Regions from separate parts of the Homo sapiens genome. Here all the other regions are linked to region 1. Evidence: promoter capture Hi-C in 16 types of primary human blood cells and fetal thymus (Javierre and others, 2016). All regions are on one chromosome and are shown on one strand. Each heading gives the region's core, a stretch centred on a gene start or on the middle of the fragment in contact. The rest is flanking DNA. Distances are from core to core; before and after follow the strand shown.

What was found. Contacts are between HindIII fragments. The CHiCAGO score rates a contact against its expected background, and 5 or more counts as called.
Region 2: the fragment with the promoter of TMEM177 here is called in contact with the fragment with the promoter of CCDC93 in region 1 in 1 of 17 cell types (non-activated CD4 T cells); the score reaches 5.5 in non-activated CD4 T cells.
Region 3: a contact is called between the fragment with the promoter of C2orf76 here and the fragment with the promoter of CCDC93 in region 1, in 2 of 17 cell types (non-activated CD4 T cells and total CD4 T cells). The highest score is 7.7, in non-activated CD4 T cells.

What each region holds. Positions count from the first base shown.
Region 1 is chr2:118,011,495-118,016,176 of GRCh38, forward strand. It overlaps CCDC93 (CCC complex scaffolding subunit CCDC93), which reads right to left and starts at 2,576. Exons shown (of 24, transcript NM_019044.5): 1 at 2,460-2,576. The coding sequence starts at 2,501. RefSeq lists silencers at 2,064-2,113, 2,584-2,783. The HindIII fragment of the contact is 9,438 bases long and covers 1-4,682 here.
Region 2 is chr2:119,676,825-119,681,506 of GRCh38, forward strand. It overlaps TMEM177 (transmembrane protein 177), which reads left to right and starts at 2,377. Exons shown (of 2, transcript NM_030577.3): 1 at 2,377-2,452; 2 at 4,008-4,682. The coding sequence starts at 4,030. RefSeq lists a silencer at 2,224-2,453. The HindIII fragment of the contact is 6,463 bases long and covers 1-4,682 here.
Region 3 is chr2:119,364,939-119,369,620 of GRCh38, forward strand. C2orf76 (chromosome 2 open reading frame 76) reads right to left here and starts at 1,896. Exons shown (of 6, transcript NM_001322331.2): 1 at 1,852-1,896. It overlaps DBI (diazepam binding inhibitor, acyl-CoA binding protein), which reads left to right and starts at 2,039. Exons shown (of 4, transcript NM_001079862.4): 1 at 2,039-2,122; 2 at 3,250-3,367. The coding sequence starts at 2,114. RefSeq lists enhancers at 1,470-1,729, 2,100-2,429, 2,960-3,159 and a silencer at 1,850-1,999. The HindIII fragment of the contact is 12,909 bases long and covers 1-4,682 here.

The DNA of each region.
Region 1 (4,682 bases), core at 1,326-3,825:
AACGTCTACAAGTGAAAACACTCTAAGAAAAGAGAAGCTAAAGAGTAGTTGTAGTTCAAGTCAGCAGAAAAAGAAAATGAGATAATATAAGTACTTTCTTAAAACTTCTGGGGTGTAAAACAGGAACACTTCATTTGTTCAATCATTTATTATGAAAACATGAGAAGAAGACAAAAAAAACCAAAAAAAAATAGGATCATCACTGCCTCAACACCTATCTAATGGACACCCACTGGCCACCCCACCACAGATGCAGGGCCCAGGCTTCCATCCACTCACCCCTAGCATGGAGAAGTTTACTTTTGCAATATAACTTGTGAAGTAATTTTGGCACAAGACACTAAATGGGAATGTATGACTCCAAATTCACTTAGCAGATTAACACTGAAATCAAATGGAAAAGGGCCACTGTCTGATCTGCTGGGAATGAAAGACCCTCTCTTGAAGCAATAAAAATCCACCAGGCTGGTTAATACATCCAGTTGTTGAAGCTAAATTTCTGACAAAGACAAACAACAATGAGCTCTTACACAAAGCCCAATAAACTTTCAATTTCCGTCCACTATAGTTGTTGTAAGCTGGAAGGCAGGCCAAGTCTAGCTATCTTTGTAAAGGGTTAAAAAGAATGAATTCGGGCAGGGCAGTGGCTCACATCTGCAATCCCAGCTACTGGGAAGCCTGAGGCATAAGAATTGCTTGAACCTGGGAGGCAGAGGTTGCAATGAACCGAGCTCACGCCATTGCACTCCAGCCTCGGTGACAGAGTGAGACTCTGTCTCAAAAAAAAAAAAAAGAATGAATTTAATGAATTAACTGGTCTAGTGACATCCTAATAACACAGACTATCCATATTTATATTTACTAGCTTCTGAACTAAATGATGATAAGTTATTGCTTGACCTGGTGAGTGTGGCCTCTTAGCAGTCAGTGAAAGTTTAAACGAAGGACATACAGCAGCAGGTTGCTCTTCATTAATTAATTTATTTATTTTCCCCCCAGAAAGACCTCCACTGATAGTACTGTGGAATATTGGGTTGGACGGATTTAAAGTAGAACGTGGGAGACCAGACAGAAGTCTACAGCAAAAGGCCAGGCAAAAACTTGATGAGAGCCTAGAATACAGAAGTGGCAAAAAAGAAAACTTCAAATGTCACAGTACAAATCCTATTGTTCACTATCCTGGGTCCCATCCCAGGCAACGTGCATGTAAGATTTTACCTAATACAGGGGTTCTGACAACATTATGCTTGTCAGGTTTTCTTAAGACAACAAAATGGACTTGCATTCGGGGAGCACACACTGACAAACAAATCTGTCCTTTCAGACTATATATATTCCCAGCTTCTGGACACAGAACACAGTGATCCCTCAATTAGTGGATACTTGTGATATGAAAGAACTGAGGATTTGGGAGGAATGCAGAGGAGTAACATTGGTCACTGGCAGGTAAGTGTGAAGGGACGACTCACCACGTCAAGCAAGCAGTCACCCTGCCCAATGCCTGCTCCAGAACCTTAGGAAAAAGGCAGAGGTGCGGCGTGGCTTCCATTTCTCTCCAGAATCCAGTAAACTAGACTAGCCTTTGAGTAAAATCAACTGAAAGGGACGACAGATGCAAACTACCTATGAGATGCTAAGTGGTATTTGCAGCCAAAAGAAAATGAATACACTTTCCCTGTATTCCCAGCAAACGTGGAAATCCGCAAACCACTCATGACCCCCTCCCTAGCACTAAGTGAGTACTTAACAAACACCTTTGGAAAAGAACCCCGCCCTCTTCTGGAGAAGCCGCAGCCTTTCCGCCCAGAGCCGGGTCCCCCGCCACACAGCACCCCTGGAGTGCGTCCCACCCCGAACGCCCCGGCGCGCTGACCCAGCGGGACACCTCCCTGGTGCGCGCAAGTCTCCCAAACTTCCTCCCGCCGCCCCGGCCCGGGTCCACGCAAGGAGGGTGGCATTCCCTCCCGACAGCAAGGCGGGTGGGGCGGGCCGCCGGGACTCTGCGGGGTGGCGGTAGACGTCCCAAGGTCACCACCCGAGCCCGAACCGCCTCGGAGAGCGGTCTCGTGACTCCAGCGCCCAGCAGCCTCGGCCCTCGGGGCTAGCCCTGCGGCGCGGGGTGGGGGAGCCCGTCCCGGACAGGGAGAAAGGTGGGAGCCCAGGACCCCGCGGCGCGTGGGGCTGCGTCAGAGCAGGTGTCGGGCTAGGAAGGCCACCTGCGCCCCAAGAGACCCGGGAGCGGCTTAAGTTTGTCCTCACCCGCCCGCCGCCCCCTGCCCATGCAGGGGTACCTGCTCCCCGCCTCCAAGAAGAGGGTCGGCGCTTCCCTGAGGTGGATACGCCTGAGGAAGGGGGCGGGGCGCCCCTAACGCACCCAGGGCCCGCTCAGCCCGCCGCCCCGCGGCTCGGCCCTCTCTTCAGGAACCCCGACGTGTCAGGGAAGGAGGAGGCGTTCTTACCTCCGGGAGACCCTGGCCCTCCGGCCCCCTGGGCAACCCCATGATCCGACCGGGCTGTCGTAAGGCGAGAGCGAAGCCCGCCAAGCGTCCGGAGGAAGCTGTCCCTGCCGCGGAGCTGCTACCGGGGTGGAGTACAAAGCGGAAACTCCCTCTGCCGCCGCCGCCGCCGCCGCCGCCGCCTGCCCGAAGCGCCGCAGCCGGGCAGAGCATGCGCGCTGGGGCCGGAGCGCGGCGCCACTGCGCCTGCGCCACAGCAGCCCGGGGAGAGGTGGGCTGGGCTGCAGGTCCTGGCGTTGTGCTGGATCATCGCGCCCGTACTCTGAAGTTTTCTCCGTGGCGCTCTTTGAGAGGGGTTCCTCCTGCATCTTGAGAATATTTTGCATTTCGGCTCCCTTCTCTTCTCGCTGCCATCGGATGCCCCAAATAGGTCCTGTCCCCTCGGTGAATCAGACTTCGGAAACCGCCTCGCTTCAGGGTCAGAGTCCAAGTACAGATGAGCTTGAGGATTCTGAATGCACGCCCGGCTCTAGACCTTACAGACACACGCTTGGACAGACTTCTCCATATACGACCCAGGAACGGACCCCTTGAGAAGGGATTCTTCAAGCCCGCTGCCCTCTCCAGCGTCCTGGCCAGTGGCATCGCGTTCCCAGGAAACCTCGCTTCAGATATTGCCCACCACCCCGCCCTATTCACGGTTCCTGGGTCTTCCTGGAGGAATGACATCTCAGAGAATGCGGACTCCTATGTTCATGTCATTTGAGCCGCCGCGTCCCTTATTTGATGTACCCCTTGTTGGTCCCGGAGGATGGCAACTAGACAAAAGGTCACAGGCCCCCACACCCGCTCCATAACGGCTTCTTGGCTTTTTGTTTCTTTTAAGCAATGAGGAAAGAGATGACTTTCGTGAAAACTTTTGCTGGAGAAGAGATCCTTCCCTCTGTATATGTGTGTGGGATGGGAAGTGTCAGACTCAGACCTTTAGTTCCTTGAGATCAAAAAGGTTTCGTGTTTGCTTTCGTCTCTTCTTTGCATCCCTAGCGTCTTTAAAAGAGTAGGCAGGCGCGGTGGCACATGCCTGTAATCCCAGCACTTTGGGGGTCGAGGCGGGAGTATCACTTGAACCTAGGAGTTGGAGACCAACCTGGGCAACATAGTGAGACCTCCATCTCTACAAAAAATAAGAAAATTAGCCCGGTGCCAGTGGTCCCAGCTAGCCGGTAGGCTGAGGTGGGAGAATTGCTTGAGCCAGGAAGGTTGAGGTTGCAGTGAGCTATGATAACACCACTGCACTCCTGCTTGGGTGACAGAGCAAGACCCTGTCTAAAAACTATATATATATACGTGTATATATATATATGTGTGTATATATATATACGTGTATATATGTGTGTATATATATACGTGTATATATATATGATGTTTTCTATTTTATTTTATTTTTGCACCTTTTGTACTCCTCCTGGAGTTCATCCTGACAGACAGAGGTTTGTCTGGAGCCAGAGCTCACAAATAGTTGGAACTGCCCTAAGGATGCCATTTTGTTCTTAAATATAACTAGCAAATATTACTCAAAGCTGTGCACGATCCCCAAACCCTGGTCCCCAATAATTTGAATAATCTGAATATGCAAGTTAAGGTATTGAGATGGGAACCCTCCTGTGTGGTATATCTTGCTCTTATCCTTTGTGAAGCCAATAAACTTCAATTTCTACTCTCATAACTTCCCAAATGTGTTGTTTTTGTAGTTTTAAAACTGTCATTCACTGAAATGGTATAGGTTGATGGGGAATGGAGAGTGATAATAATTTGTGGCCACTGTTGAGTGACCAGACAGGTACTGATGCCTAGGAACAGGTAGTAAGATCTCACATAGCAGGCAAGCCTAAACAGCTGTATATAATAGCAGCCTGGAGAATAACAGGACTCAGGCCACACCCTGAGTTCCCTGTTATAATGCTTTTGCAATGTTTTAAATAAGCATGAGTAGCTAACTTCCTCAGTAAGAAACTGTCCTTCCCGAGCGCGGTGGCTCATGTCTGTAATCCCAGCACTTTGAGAGGCCGAGGCGGGTGGATCACCTGAGATTGGGAGTTCGAGACCAGCCTGACCAACATGGAGAAATGCCGTCTCTACTAAAAATACAAAATTAGCCGGGCGTGGCAGCGCATGCCTGTAATCCCAGCTACTTGGTAGGCTGAGGCAGGAGAATCACTTGAACTG
Region 2 (4,682 bases), core at 1,127-3,626, 1.7 Mb after region 1:
GCATATATTTGTATATATTTTTTGAGAAATGTCTACTCAAGTCATTTGCCCATTTATTAATTGGCTTGTTGAGTTGCTAAGAGTTCTTTATATATTCTGGATACTACACCCTTATCAGATCTATGATTTGTAAATATTTTCTCCTATTGTGGATTGTCTTTCCACTTTTCTTGATAGTATTTTTCATGCACAAAAGTTTTTCATTTTGATGGAGTCCAACTGGCCAGCCTACTTTAAAAAATTTTTTTAAACTTTTTATTATGGAAATTTCCAAACACACACAAAAGTAGAGCATGGTATGATGAAGATCCCTGAACCTGTCATGCAGCTTCACAATAACTAACACTTTGTCAATGTTGTTTCATCTGTGCCCCTGTTTTTTTGTTGTTGTTGTTGTTTGGATTTGGTTTCGTTGGAATATTTTGAATCAAATAGTAGACATTGTGTCATTTCACCTGTAAACACTTCAGTATGCATCTCTAGTAAGAATTTTTTGGTTTATATAAACTCCATGTCATCATCCCATCTGATGAAATAAGCAATAATTCATTAATATCATCTAATATTCAAATCCAAATTCAAATTTCTCCAAGATGCCTTTTGTTTGTTTGTTTGTTCCTTTGTTTGTTTGAGACAGAGTCTCACTTAGCCACCCAGGCTGGAGTGCAGTGGCACAATCTCGGCTTACTGCAACCACCATCTCCCAGGTTTTAGCGATTCTCCCGTCTCAGCCTCCTGAATAGCTAGGATTATAGGCGTGTGCCACCATGCCTGGCTAATTTTTGTATTTTAGTAGAGACGGAGTTTCACCATGTTGGCCAGGCTGGTCTTGAACTCCTGACCTCAGGTGATCTGCCCTCCTTGGCCTCCCAAAGTGCCAGGATTACAGGCGTAAGCCACCGCGCCCAGCCCAAGGTGTCTTTTTTACAGTTAGTTTATTTGGTTCAGGATCCCAATAAAAGTCACATATTGCATTTAACTGCAATGACTCTCAAGTCTCTTTTCTTTTGAGTCCCCCTCCTTCCCTGTTTATGCCATTGATTTGTTGGATAAACCACGTCATTTGCCCTGTAGAATGTCCCACATTCTGGCTTTGGCTGAGGTCACATTGCACTATTTACATACAAACAACTGAGCAGCCAAAATTGGGGGGGGGGGCTCAGAAACAGAACAGACTTTAATAATAATAGCTAATGGCTAGGCGGCACAAACCGTGAGGCACAGGTTACATATACACCAACTCATTTTATCACACAGCTAGTAAGGGGTGGAGCCCGGCTTTAACCCTAGGCAGTCTGTTTTCACCCTCTGTAAAGGATTGGGCATGGCTGTGTTCCAAGAAAACTTTATTTACAAAAGCAGGTGGAGAGCTGGATTTGGTGCACAGATTAGATGATCCCTCATCTACCTCACAGAGCAGCTGGAAAGGAGAAATGACAGATGGCACGCTGCTCTGTGGACTGTACAGTGTGAAGCACCTGGGAGGAGCTTGGGGGGCAGCGAACATGGTAATAAACATAAAGCTCAGAGCTCCCCGCCAAGGGTGAGCGCTTCCAGACGGAGAAGTACACGGGCCGGCCAGTCAGATGGGCATGGGTTCTGATGGGGGCCCTGCCATAGGCCGCCTGGTGACCCACGCGGGGCTGCCGTTCCTTCGGGGGTTCAACGGCATGATCAAAGACACCGGGATGTGTGTGTGTGTGTGTGTGTGTGTGTGTGATGATCAAAGACACCGGGGTGGGTGTGTGTGTGTGTGTGTGTCATGATCAAAGACACCAGGGTATGTGTGTGTGTGTGTGTGTGTGTGGCATGATCAAAGACACCGGGGTGTGTGTGTGTGTGTGTGTGGCATGATCAAAGACACCGGGGTGTGTGTGTGTGTGTGTGTGTGTGACGGAGTCTCGCTCTGTCGCCCAGGTTGGAGTGCAGTGGCGTATTCTCGGCTCACTGCAACCTCTGCCTCCCAGGTTCAAGCGATTCTCCTGCCTCAGCCTCCCCAGCAGCTGGGGACTACAGGCGTGCGCCACCACGCCCAGCTAATTTTTGTATTAATCAAAGACGCATTTCAACGCAGAGGAGGAAGTGCTAGCGGACCCACCCCAAGGTGCACAGTTAGAGAAGGAGCCTCTGCGGCGGCCGGAGCCCCCCACGGACATCCCCTTGAGGCCCCCCCAGCCACACCCCCAAGAGTCCCGCCCCCAGACCCGTCGAGCGAGCTCCCCTCCCTGAAATCCTCGCCCCGAGATCTCCGGCCGGCGAGCTCCGCCCCCTGAAGTCCCCATCCCAAGATCCGGGGCCGGCGAGCTCCGCCTCCCGAAGTCCCCGCCCCCAGATCCCCGGCCGGCGTGCTTTGCGGCCGCCCTGCCGCGCGCACATGTAGGCGTTCCGAGCGGCGGCGGAGGTGAGCGCACGGACGAGCGGGAGGGACCCTTCTCCGGCCTGATGCGACCCGGTAACGCGTTCAGACTGCGGAGTAGCCTAGGGGCCCAGAGTGGAAGCGTAGCGAGGACCCCTCTGCGGGGCTCCTGCAGCCCCTCCTCCCCCAGCCACCGGCGGGCTGCATGGTACTGTGTTCTAGGCCCACCCCGCAGCGCGATGGCCCTAGGGACGTTGGACTTTGGTCCAGACCTTTCCTTTCTTAGCCTCACTTTCCGCATTGGGAAAAAAAAAAAGCCCGAATGATAATGATTCTTATAGGAGTTCTTGATTAAGATAGGCCAAGCGGTACCCTGCGTTTTTGTTTGCGGCAACTCATTCGTTGCTCATTAAGCACTTTTCACGGACAGGAATACAGTAAGTTTCAATCAAAGTGAAATAATTGTGAATTTTTACTGACGTATTCACGGATGAAGTGATAGGATGCCCGGGGATGTTTCAAAATAAACCAGTTGGACGGAAGTGTGGTGGAAAGAGAAATCAAACAAGATTGGCCATGAGTTGATGGGATTGAAGTTGATGGATGTACTATTTTGTCTACTTTGGTATATGCTTGTAATTTGGCATAACAAGTTTTCTAAAACAAAAAGTTTGCTGTGGACACCTGACTATGCCTGTGTTAGCTTGCTAGAGCTGCCATGCCGAAGTACCGGAGACTGGGTGGCCCAACCAGCAGAAATTTGTCCTCTGGGAGTTATGGAGGCTGGAAGTTCAAGACCAGGGTGTTAACAGGGTTGGTGTCTTCTGAGACCTCCCTTCTTGGCTTGTAGGTGGTAGCCTTTTCCCTGGATCCTCACATGATCTTCCTGCTGTGCCTGTTTGCATCCTAATCTCTTCTTATAAGTACACCAGTCAAATTGGATTAGGATCCATACTGATGGCCTCATTTTATCTTAATTATCTCCTTAAAGACCCTGTCTCCAAATACAGCCACAGTCTGAGGTACTGGGGGTTAGGACTTAAATATATGAACTGGGGAGGAGGAGGAGACACAGTGCAGCCCATAACACTGTCACTTCACTAGCTTAGGATTTTGGCCATTTAAGTTTTCACAGCTTTGAAATAGGGTTAGCTGTAGTAATTAGGTCATGGGGTTGTGAGGGTTCAATCGGTAAGAGTGCTCAGAACTGAGTCTAGCATATAGTAAGCACTCAATAAATTGAACACGTTTTTCCTTATAAATTAGTAATCATAGGGCTTTACCATGGGATGAGTGGAATGAGGCAGTTGGAGTGCCGTGCCCAGCGATGGGAATAAAAGTCATTACAGCCATTATTATAAGGAATATCTGCTGCTGTGCCAGACACTAAATGTTTTATGTATGTTTATTCATGTGCTCATCACCGCCACCCTAGAGGTGGGCCATTACGACACACCTGTTTGGCACATGGGGAAATTGACGCACAGAGACGGAGCTGGGATTTGAACACAGGCACTCTGGCTCTAGAGCCCACACTCTTCACCACTATGCTGTGTTACTTTGGTTTAAAAAGGTGGTGTGGACCCTGGAGGATGTTCAGTCTGCAGGCTGACCCAGGGAAACTGGCTGACTTCTCTTTTTCTTGGCCCAGATTGTCCGCAGTGACTACACTCATGGCAGGTCCCCTGTGGCGGACCGCAGCATTTGTGCAGAGACACAGGACAGGCCTCTTGGTGGGTTCCTGTGCAGGCCTGTTTGGAGTTCCAATCTCGTACCACCTCTTCCCGGATCCCGTGGTCCAATGGCTCTACCAGTACTGGCCTCAGGGCCAGCCAGCTCCGCTCCCTCCACAGCTGCAGAGCCTCTTCCAAGAGGTGCTACAGGACATAGGTGTTCCTTCAGGCCATTGCTACAAGCCCTTCACCACCTTCACCTTCCAACCTGTGAGTGCAGGCTTCCCAAGACTCCCTGCTGGGGCTGTGGTGGGCATCCCTGCCAGTTTCTTGGGAGACCTAGTGATCAACACTAACCATCCCGTGGTCATACATGGGCATACAGTGGACTGGCGGAGCCCAGCAGGCGCCCGGCTGAGAGCTTCCCTGACCTTGTCCCGTGAAGCCCAGAAGTTCGCCTTGGCCAGGGAAGTGGTGTACCTGGAAAGCAGTACCACTGCCGTGCACGCCCTGCTGGCCCCAGCTTGCCTGGCAGGGACCTGGGCACTGGGCGTGGGTGCCAAGTACACCCTGGGGCTCCATGCAGGCCCCATGAATTTACGGGCTGCCTTCAGCTTGGTGGCAGCAGTGGCAGGCTTTGTGGCCTACGCCTT
Region 3 (4,682 bases), core at 646-3,145, 1.4 Mb after region 1:
GCCAGGCATGGTGGTTGTGCCCACATTTCCAGCTACTCGGGAGGCTAAGGTGGGAGGATCGCTTGAGGCCTGGAGTTCAAGGCTGCAGAGAGCTGAGATTGTGCCACTGAACTACAGCCTAGGTAAAAGAGTGAGACCACATCACACGCGAAAATAATTAAAAAACAAAAACTAAAAAACTAAAAGCAACTGATCTTTGAGAAGTGATAACTGCATTCTCAAAGTACCTAATCTCAACAATACCCTAACTTAAAACCTGCTGACTAGGAGATGTATTTGACTGCAAATCTGGCCCACACAAGCAATAATCTGAGTTTCCATCAAGGAAGCTGTAAGCACCAAGTAGAGCAAAAACAAATCCAGGCCTCAAATGGAAAAAGCAGCTCTGAATTGTGATTTTCGAAGAAACCTGCATTTCTTACACTTCAGTGTACTTTCCCCATATTTAACTCCAAGATTTTTGTTAATTTGTTTGGTTTTCCTTTCTCAAACAAAATTATGCTCAGACTGAAAACCCTAGATTTGTTCCCTATTGCATCTTCATTTCTTCCCAAACATTCCATAAAACGTGACCTACATTAAGTTAGCAAGTTAAGTCTGAAAGCGTCTACCTTCCCTGGGGAGGGGGAAGGTGTAGGCAGGGCAGAGATTTGTAGTCCAGCCCTCTTGCCACAAATTATGAATTAGAGAGGAATGACTTTGCTTTTTTAATGATCTCCAGAGAATTTTCCATCATTTCCCTCTCTTCACCCAGCTCCTTTGCAACCACTGCCAGAGAAGTCTTCCTTTAGCTTCTTAAACATCGATCCTAAAACACTTCCAGACACCTGTGCTGCTCCTTTCAGTTCCCATGGAGATTAGGCTGTGTAACAATCTCGCAAAGACGTTCCCCTCCGTCTCCTCATCCTCTTTTCAAACCCTTTTACGATTTCCCATCTCACTCAGCATGACAGTCAAAGTCCCTGTGATGGCCAACTTCTGCATCACCTAGCCAGTCTGCCACCGCCAAAACTCTCCAGCCTCATCTTTCTACTCTTCCCCTGGTTCCTTGCCCACGCCTTTACACTTGTTCTCTGCTTGGAATCTTCCCTCCCCTCCTTGAGGAACTTTCTCAAATGTCACCTTCCCTCAATACTCCCCCTCCTCCATTTAAAACTATAAACTTCCAACTCTCTAAGCCCCTAAAGTACTCTATATTTAACTTATTGTATAAACTACTGTCCCTACTTGTAAGTTCCAAGATTGCAGGGATTCACCCGCTTTGTTCACTGCTGTCTGCCAAGGTCTAGAACAGTGCAAGTTACCCAACAGGAGTTCAATAAACAGCCATTCATTTAACAAATATTTGCTGAGCACTTCGTCCCGTCCAAGTTTGTTAAATCAAGACAAATAAGACACCGTCCCTGCCTTTAACGCACCAGATGGAGAAATGCACCACAGACATAAATGTGCAATACAGGCCTGACACTACGGCCACAAGCAAGTCAAAGAACGTGCCAAAAGTTCAGAGGAAGAAGCCTCGGCTTCGCCTTTCGGGAGACCAGTCCAGCTTTCCACCATCACGCTGCTCATCAGGGACCATCTCCGGGGGTCTCCTCTAGACCCCAAGGGAGGAGCGGGTCCCGCCCGCCATTCCCAGGTCTCAGAGTTTACTTGTCCAGAGATGCAACTTCCGGCCTCTTCAGGCCGGGCAAGATTTAAGGAAAGAAAAGAAACATAAGGACCTCCGTTCTTCGGTCTCCGTCCCCTCCCCTTCCCCCGCGTGCCGTCCCCACAACGGGCCAGGACTGAACCCAACTCTCGACCAACTCCCGGCAGCAAAACTAAGCACCCTACTTCCGTTGTCCCCACCTGTTCCCGGCGTCCCCTTCGGCTACTCCCGGCGTTTGCGCAAGCGGTCCCACGTGGGCTCGGGCGGGGCTAGCGCCGCGGCGGGGGCTGGGCACGCCCCTAGCGCATAGCTGGCTTCTGATTGGCTTTCCGGTGCTCGCCCGAGCAGGGTTGGGGCGAGTGGACCGCGCCTCTAAAGGCGCTTGCCAGTGCAATCTGGGCGATCGCTTCCTGGTCCTCGCCTCCTCCGCTGTCTCCCTGGAGTTCTTGCAAGTCGGCCAGGATGTCTCAGGTACAGCGCGTGCACAGCCAGGCTGCGAAGGTGCAGCGGGCGGGAGGCCCGTTGGGGGCTCAGCCGGCTGCCAGAAGCTCTCGGGCTCTTTCCTTCCGTGCCCCTCACTTGCTCATGGGCCCATGCCTAGCCCTGATTCGTTGGACAGAGCCTTGTGAGCGGGATTTTCCGTTTGGGGATTTCTAAATCTGCTGCCCACCCCGCAACTGCCGGAAAGTTGCCCATGGGGTGGACTTCGCTGTGTAGCGGGAGAGGGGTGGGAGTCGAGGGTGCTTGATGGAGAGATGGGGGAAGGGGTTGCACGGATTGGAGGAGCGAGGAGACTCAGTCCCCATCCCGAAGCACAGGGCAGGACGTCGCGGCGGAGTGGGGAAGCGAGGAGTCCGTGGCCGAGAGCTTGGAGGTCAGGGGAAGTACGGGGCCGGCTGCTCAGAGTGCGGGACGAGGAGAATCGCGGCCCGGGGAGAGGTGACCCAGGGGCCCCTCCCTTCTCTCCAGTGTAGACCCTTGTCTGAGACCGAGCTATGTGGGGCGACCTCTGGCTCCTCCCGCCTGCCTCTGCCAATCCGGGCACTGGGACAGAGGTCGGTGTTGAACGCGCGGGCCCCAGGGGGAGGGAGGGGACCAACGGGCTCCGGCGCTGACACCGCGGCACTCATGCCCTGTCCCCTTTCAGCTGTTTCCAGCATACTGTGCCCCGTCTGTCCTCAGGCCAGGGCTTCGCTGCAGCCCCGGCCACTCCCTAGTGCCTGGCCCGGTGGTGGCCAGGCAGTTGGCCGCGCTGCTTCTCCCGCAGAGGGGACCCCCACTGGGGGCGAAGGCTTGGCCTGCCCTCTTCACTGCTGTATTTCCAGACCTGATGCCTGCGTTTGTGAGAGCTCTGGATATATGGTTTTCGATTGAATGAGTGAACTGGAGGGGCTTCCCCTTCTTGTGTTGCTGAATCTTTCTAGCTGCCCTGTTGGGGCAGGGAGGGGCAGACACACTTCAGGGGCTGCATTGCCCGAAGGGTGCCACCTTTCCCACCTCTCCATCCCCGTAACTGGGCTGTCATCAGGCCACAGTAGGATTCTTACCCTCTCCCACCCAGAGGAGGCCCTCAATCCTCTCCTCTCCCTTCCATTTAGGCTGAGTTTGAGAAAGCTGCAGAGGAGGTTAGGCACCTTAAGACCAAGCCATCGGATGAGGAGATGCTGTTCATCTATGGCCACTACAAACAAGCAACTGTGGGCGACATAAATACAGGTATGCAGAGCGGGGGTTGGAAGGGCATCTGCTCATCAAAGCAGGCTCAGCAGCTCAGACTGGAAGTCCCTGGGAACTTCACTCTCAAACTGCCTGAGGCCCTACTCTTCAGGTGGGGTATGGTGATGGTTCCTGAGGTGGAAAAGACCATGTTCCGGATTCTCAGTGTCTCCAGTAGTAACAGAATTCAAATCCTGGTTTTAGAAGGTCTTTACTGGTTATCACCAGCAGCTACTCTCTACTAGGGAAGAAGCAAAGGCTGCAGCTTGGAAAAGACTTGCTGAAGGCTCTCAGCTCAGTAGTATCATTGTTGAGCCGTTCAGCTTCTGCCCTAGATGGGCAGGATCAAAGTTGGAGCACTTTTTGGAGCACTTGACAGCCTGGCCAAGCCTGATGTCAGGAGCAGAGAAGCACCTGGTTTCTTGGGCTAGGTCAGAGCATTTCGCTAACAAGTCTGTGCCTTCCTGATGATAACTTTTTCCCTGCCCAGAAATCTTGGTGCAGATTTTGAGGCTGTGCTTTGGACTGTCATGTTCTGTAATAACATCTTTCCTGCCTTGGGCAGGTTTCATTCTGTCCCTAAGTCCCTGAAACATGGGTGGATACTGAGGCAACAGCGCAGTGCATTCTGTGCAAGGACTCAGGGTTATCATGGCAGCACAGAAGGGAGGTCTCCCCTGCCCCTGCTGAGGAAGAAGGCGAGCATGGTCCCTATTTCCGCAGTAGCTGGGGTGGAAGATGGAGCAGGTGGGCTGGCTGCCAACCAGCTGGAAGCAGGAAATAGTACCCAGAATGACAGATCACAGGCAGTACCATATCAAACCCTGGGGTTCACATGGAGCACTTAGTTGAAGAAGGTCTTATGGCGAAGGTGAGTTTTACAGTGAGTTCGTAAACTCTGTCCTTCCAGGGAGGGGAAGGAAAGGTGAAGTGGGGGAGGCCAGAGGTGCCAAGATGCTTTTCTGACAAACAGTATTTTCACAGAGACTGGCCTGTGCCCGTACTAGAGTTACCGATTTTCACATGAGTCTAGATAGACTGGCATAGGAATCTATCACTTACTGATCAAAGAGGTGTCATCGGCTCTCTCTAGGGCTGTACTATACAGCCCTATTACACGATTATAAAACATGATAGTCCAAACACGATAGTTTAGTATAATAGCCAGTAGCCACATATGACTATATAAATTTTAACTGAGGCTGGGCGCTATGGCTCATGCCTGTAATCCCAGCACTTTGGGAGGCCGAAGCAAGCGAATCATGAGGTCAGGAGTTTGAGACCAACCTGGCTAACGTAGTGAAACCCCATCTCT